Regions from separate parts of the Homo sapiens genome. Here region 2 is linked to region 1. Evidence: promoter capture Hi-C in human tissues and cell types (Jung and others, 2019). All regions are on one chromosome and are shown on one strand. The core of a region is centred on a gene start or on the middle of the fragment in contact, and the rest is flanking DNA. Distances in the headings are between cores, read along the strand shown.

Region 1 (2,700 bases), core at 1-2,500:
TAGCTAGAGAGAAGAGGAAGGGGGCATAGAGGGGAGGGGGGCAGAGCTGCAGACAACCCCTCAAGGCCCCACCTCCTTCACTCACACCCTCCTTTAGTGGAAGCTCACCTTGAAGAGGTAGAAATAGACCTGCTTGGTGTCTGTGTCCTCTTCCTTGTGAACAGACATGAAGAGATTCTCCACATCCACCACCATCCCCAGCAGTCGGTTTATCTCATCCTCTGACACATTCTCCAAGTGGGATACGTGGTCAGCTGCAAGACAGATGGCAGAGTTAGGAAAAATTGATAGAAGAAATCAACAAGGCTTCTTGACCCTCTTCACAGCCAAGCAAGATACACACTCTGTTCCTCCAACCAGTGTGACCAACAGTGAGACTGACTGCTCCGATATCAACCGTTGGGTTGCCTGGGCCTGTTCTGGGCTGAGAGATTTCCTTTCTCCCCCCTTGGTGCACACCCCCCCCCAACCCAATCCCTCCTTCGAGGCATCTTTGATTTTTTCAGAGATGAAGCTTTGTGGCACTTGTCACCCTGTCCAAGCAGGACCCAGCACCTGCCCCCAGCTCCAAGGGCGCTGCCTGCCTTACCCAAGGGGTGCTCACAACTGCGGCACAGCTCACTCAGGTTGGCAGCTGGCTGCTGCAGATCCATGCGGGGTGCAGTGGGGGGCTTGGGGTTTTTCCAGCCATTACACTTACAGGTTTCATTGGCCTGGAGGTGGAAGGATCAGTCAATGACCTATACCTCTGGGGCAAGAGCCGCTCCGCAGCCAGAGCTTTGACCCCATTCCCACCAGAGCCCTGGGATGCCCCAAGCCCCGCCCCTTCACCCCAGGCCCCGCCCCCACCTTGCAAGCCGAGAAGACCCCTAGCTTCTCAAGCTTCTTGGCGCGCGGCAGCCCCCGGACTTGCGCCTTCCTCTGACTGGCGCGCTGCTGCTGGCTCAGGCCAGGTCGAGCCGGATCCCCCCCGCTCCCGGCCCCCCCACTTCCTACCCCGGGCCCCCCAGTCCCTGTGCTGCCGGCTGGGGCTGCAGCTGGGGCAGGGGCTGGTGCCGGGGTGGGAGTCGGAATCGGGGCTGAAGCCGGGCTGGGTGCAGGAGTCGGAGTTGGGGCAGGGGCTGGGGACTGAAGGGGCCGGGGCTGCGCAGCCGGGGCCGGGGTCGGGGCCTGGGAAGGTTCCGCCATGGCCTCCCCCGCAGCGGAGAGCGGCGCCGCGCTCCCAGCCCTAGGGCCGCATGGGCAACCAGCGCTCAGTGCGCAGGCGTTGCTGCGCGGCGCATGACGGGAGTTGTAGTCTTCCCGCGCCTTCCCCTCACTGCCTCCAGCTTCCAGACTTTTCTGTCCTGTCTCTTGGCCCCTGACAGCCAAGTGAGGCCTGAGTGAAGGCCCCACATTGACCCCTCTTCACTTGTAATCTCTTTTAATGGAGTCCGGGAGAGTCACGATGGCTGTCCTCTTGGGGACAAGGAGTCTTGGGGAGAATCGTGGGGTCTGCCTCTTTCACGCGCCTGTCTCCCACTTAACCCCCTCCCCCAACTCCCGCACAGGCCCTGCCCCACGCGGCTCCGGACACGGAATTGCAGCTGCGGTAGAGATGAGATGTAGCAACAGTTCTGCAGTAGTGTGGTGGTGACTTGGGTGTGTTCTCCTCCTGACATTCACCTGCACCTTTTTCTGCGCTTTTCAGTATGTATGTATTTAATAGTATCACTCAACAAAAAGGAGTTTATCAGGCCGGGTGGCTGGCTCACGCGGGAGGAGAGCTTGAGCCCTGCAGGAGTTCGAGACCAGGCTGGGCAACATTGGGAGACCCCCCCCACCAATCTCTACAAAAAAATAAAAAATAAAGTTTATAGGCTGGGCGAGGTGGCTCACGCCTGTAATCTCAGCACTTTGGGAGGCCGAGATGGGAGGATCGCTTGAGCCCAGGAGTTCGAGATTAACCTGGGCAACATAATGATACCCTGTCTCTTAAAAAAAAAAAATTATCAAATAACAGCACCAGAGGCATAGCTGTGGTTATGATGGTCACCAAGAAGGCTACTGACGTGGAGGGTGAGGCGGAGGAGGGCTAGGTCTTTCTCTGTGCACTGGGAGCCACTCTCCTGAAGCCCCAACTGCGTCTTCATCTTTGTGGCCCCAGAGCCCAGACCACAGCCTGCAGCACAGGACGCCCCGGGAAGAATTAATGCAGCCGGAGAGACCAGTCCACCTCCTCGTGTCGCGTGTCCGCGTGGGGTTGTGGGTGGTCAGGGAGAGGTAGGGTGGATGACCCAGGAAGGCCGCCCTCCCCTGGCTCTGTCTAGGAACAATCCTTGCCCCAGGCCTGGTCCTTAGAAGGCAAGACAGCCCCCTTCCAGCTGGGGGATCAATCTGCTGTTGGCTGCGCCAGGGTGCGGCTCCCTCGGGTCTGGCCTGGTCGTGGATCCAGTTCCTTCACAGCTGCGGCCTCCCCGGGTCCATTAACGAAGGTGGGGAAGGGCGGAGAAAGGGTCGGAGTCTGGGAGGAGAGCAGCTGCGGGCGCGCCAGGGCGCTGACAGTCTGGCTCTTGGAGGTAAGATGGGCGTGGCTGATCCCGAACTCCGCCTGCGTTTGCAGAAGCGAAGGGAACCGAGCGAGCGGAGCTGAGCTCGGGTAGGCCGCGCGAGGTCCCTCCTCTCCGGGCGTCCGTGCGCCTAGCTCTGCGCTGGGAGCCT
Region 2 (2,700 bases), core at 201-2,700, 91 kb after region 1:
TGGGAGGCCGAGGCGGGCAGATCACCTGAGGTCGGGAGTTCGAGACCAGCCTGACCAACATGGAGAAACCCCGTCTCCACTAAAAATACAAAATTGCGGGGCGTGGTGCCGCATGCCTGTAATCCCAGCTACTCGGGAGGCTGAGGCAGGAGAATCGCTTGAAACCAGGAGGCGGCGGTTGCGGTGAGCCAAGATCGTGCCATTGCAGTCCAGCCTGGGCAACAAGAGCGAAACTCTGTCTCAAAAAAAAAAAATGAATAAAAATAAAATCAAAGTGACGTCTGAATTAGCAGATGCTAGAGGAGGAGTTTCTTTCATCAGCATCCCTCTTTGTGGGTTGAGGGTCCCATAGGAGCCTGATCTGGCATTACACATGGGGAACATAAGAGAGTAAAGGGGAGAGAGGCCCAGAGTTCGCATCCCCTCAAAAGCTTTGCTTCTCATGAGCTATGTTAACATCTGCTTTGCTCTATTTCCTTTACAAAGGAAGAAAATGCATTAACTGTAGACAAAGGTCAACTTATTTAAAATATGCAAAGATGTAATTTTCTACACGTGACCTGGGTAACTCTCAAGTTGTCCATCTAGTCAGAAGCTTCTATTACTTTCGGTACATTTTATTAGAGACATGAAGAATAAGGGCCCAGGGCAGGGAGACTCCTGAGAGCATCTGGTTGGGAAGGACTGATCTAACAGCGGCTGGCAGCTGGGCTCCTCACCCTGTTGAACTGGGACCAGGACACAGACAGGCCACTGTAGTCCTCCAGGTGGCTGCTGCTGTTGTTGAACAGTTTCTGCGCCAGGAACACGAGGTTCTCCTTGGTCAGGCCCCGGTTGCTCTGCACTTCGGCCTTGAATTTCATGTTGAGCGCCTCACACAGCTGTGGCCACAGCACTTTGTCAGGCACGGCAAATGGCACCCTGCCCTGAGAGGGAGAGAGGCCAGAATCTGATGAGAAAACAGTTGCATGATTTATTCCCTCAAGCCACAAAAGAAAAACGCTGATGGCTGGGAGTGGTTACACACATTTGTCTTGCAGGGCCTGAGGATAAATTCAGACTCTGCTGGGGTACACGGTTCTGTGAAATTCAGAAGGTTCCGTTTCACCTTCTTTACACACAACTAGAAGGTAACCCATGCTATCCATGCTGTTTTGTAAATGAGCTGCTGAACTAACAGTCAAATCCTATGTTCTAACGGCCACAAACCAAAACATAACCAAGGTCTGGCTCTTAGATTGTAAACACCTTGGGAATTTAGAAATCTGAAAGACTGGTCCTCTAGGTACAAACAGAGAGAGTGTGCGTATGTGTGCACACGTGTCGGCATGTGTGTACACACGTGGAATCATTGCCCTCGACTCCTTCTGCCAAGAATTCTAGCTCAAAGTAAAACAACTTGGTATGGAAGAGTGGAAATTTTGAGTTGGATGGCTTTATTGAGAAATAGGTTAGAAGATTAACTTTTAATAAACTGCTTTTCAACCCGTTCAGCCATAGTACTCCATTTTATTTTGTTACAAACACTTTTTTCAATAGGTGATTTTCACATGATTTAAAATTCAAAAAGCACAGACGGCTACACAGTGAAGTCACTCCCTATCCCTGTCTCCCAGCAACCCAGTTCTTTTCTTTAAAGGCACCTAACACAGTTTCTTGTGTATCCCACCAAAGATATTCTATGCATGCCAGCAATGACATATACCTTTTCCTTTTCTTCACAAATGACAGCACAAAATCCACATGTTCTGCATCTTCCTCTTTTCACTTAATCCTCTATCTGGGAGACCTCCCATCAGCACATAAAGAAATTTCACCAGACCCCCATAGATGGGCATCAGTGTTACAGCCTCATCTTTAGCTATTACTAACAATGCTGCAATGTTCTTATGTTATTTGACCCACAGGACACATAGGCAAATATATATGGAGAATAAATTTCCACAATTATTTTTTTTTTTAGGTAAGGTCTCGCTCTGTCATCCAGGCTGGAGTACAGTGGCCCAATCTTGGCTCATTGCAACTTCTGCCTCCTTAGCTCAAGTAATTATCCTACCTCAGCCTCCCAAACAGCTGGGACTACAGGCGTGCACCACCATGCCTGGCTAATTTGTGTGTTTTTTGTAGAGACAGGGTTTTGCTATGTTGACAAGGCTGGCCTCAAATTCCTGGGCTCAAGAGATCCGCTTGCCTTGGCCTCCCAAAGTGCTGGGATTGCAGGCATAAACCACTGTGCCTGGCCACAAGTCTTTATTATTTATTTTTTATTTTTTATTTTTTTGAGACAGAGTCTCACTGTGTTGCCCAGGCTGGAGTGCAGTGGCACCATCTCAGGTCACTACAACCTCTGCCTCCCAGGTTCAAGCAATTCTCCTGCCTCAGCCTCCCGAGTAGCTGGGATCATAGGCACGCACCACCACGCCCAGCTAATTTTTGTATTTTTAGTAGAGATGAGAGTCTCACCATGTTGGCCAAGCTGGTCTCGAATTCCTGACCTCAAATGATCCACCCACCTCGGCCTCCCAAAGTGCTGGGATTACAGGTGTGAGCCACCGTGCCCAGCTGAAAGTCTTTTTTTTAACATAGCATAAGGTCGGCTGGGTGCAGTGGCTCATGCCTATAATCCCAGCACTTTGGGAGGCCGAGGTGGGTGGATCACTTGAGGTCAAGAATTCGAGACCAGCCTGGCCAACATGGTGA

What was found. Contacts are between HindIII fragments. The study calls those that stand out against the background at their distance.
Region 2: a contact is called between a fragment that was not itself captured here and the fragment with the promoter of KAT2A in region 1, in 3 of the 25 tissues and cell types used here (IMR-90 fibroblasts, mesendoderm cells and thymus).

Annotation. Positions count from the first base shown.
Region 1 is chr17:42,120,117-42,122,816 of GRCh38, forward strand. KAT2A (lysine acetyltransferase 2A) reads right to left here and starts at 1,251. Exons shown (of 18, transcript NM_021078.3): 1 at 850-1,251; 2 at 590-713; 3 at 109-254; 4 at 1-3. The coding sequence starts at 1,188. It overlaps HSPB9 (heat shock protein family B (small) member 9), which reads left to right and starts at 2,688. Exons shown (of 1, transcript NM_033194.3): 1 at 2,688-2,700. RefSeq lists a silencer at 1,118-1,367. The HindIII fragment of the contact is 6,206 bases long and covers 699-2,700 here.
Region 2 is chr17:42,211,265-42,213,964 of GRCh38, forward strand. STAT5B (signal transducer and activator of transcription 5B) reads right to left here. Exons shown (of 19, transcript NM_012448.4): 13 at 720-926. Among named protein-coding and RNA genes, the nearest start is that of GHDC, 18 kb to the left of the region's middle. The HindIII fragment of the contact is 7,783 bases long and covers 1-2,700 here.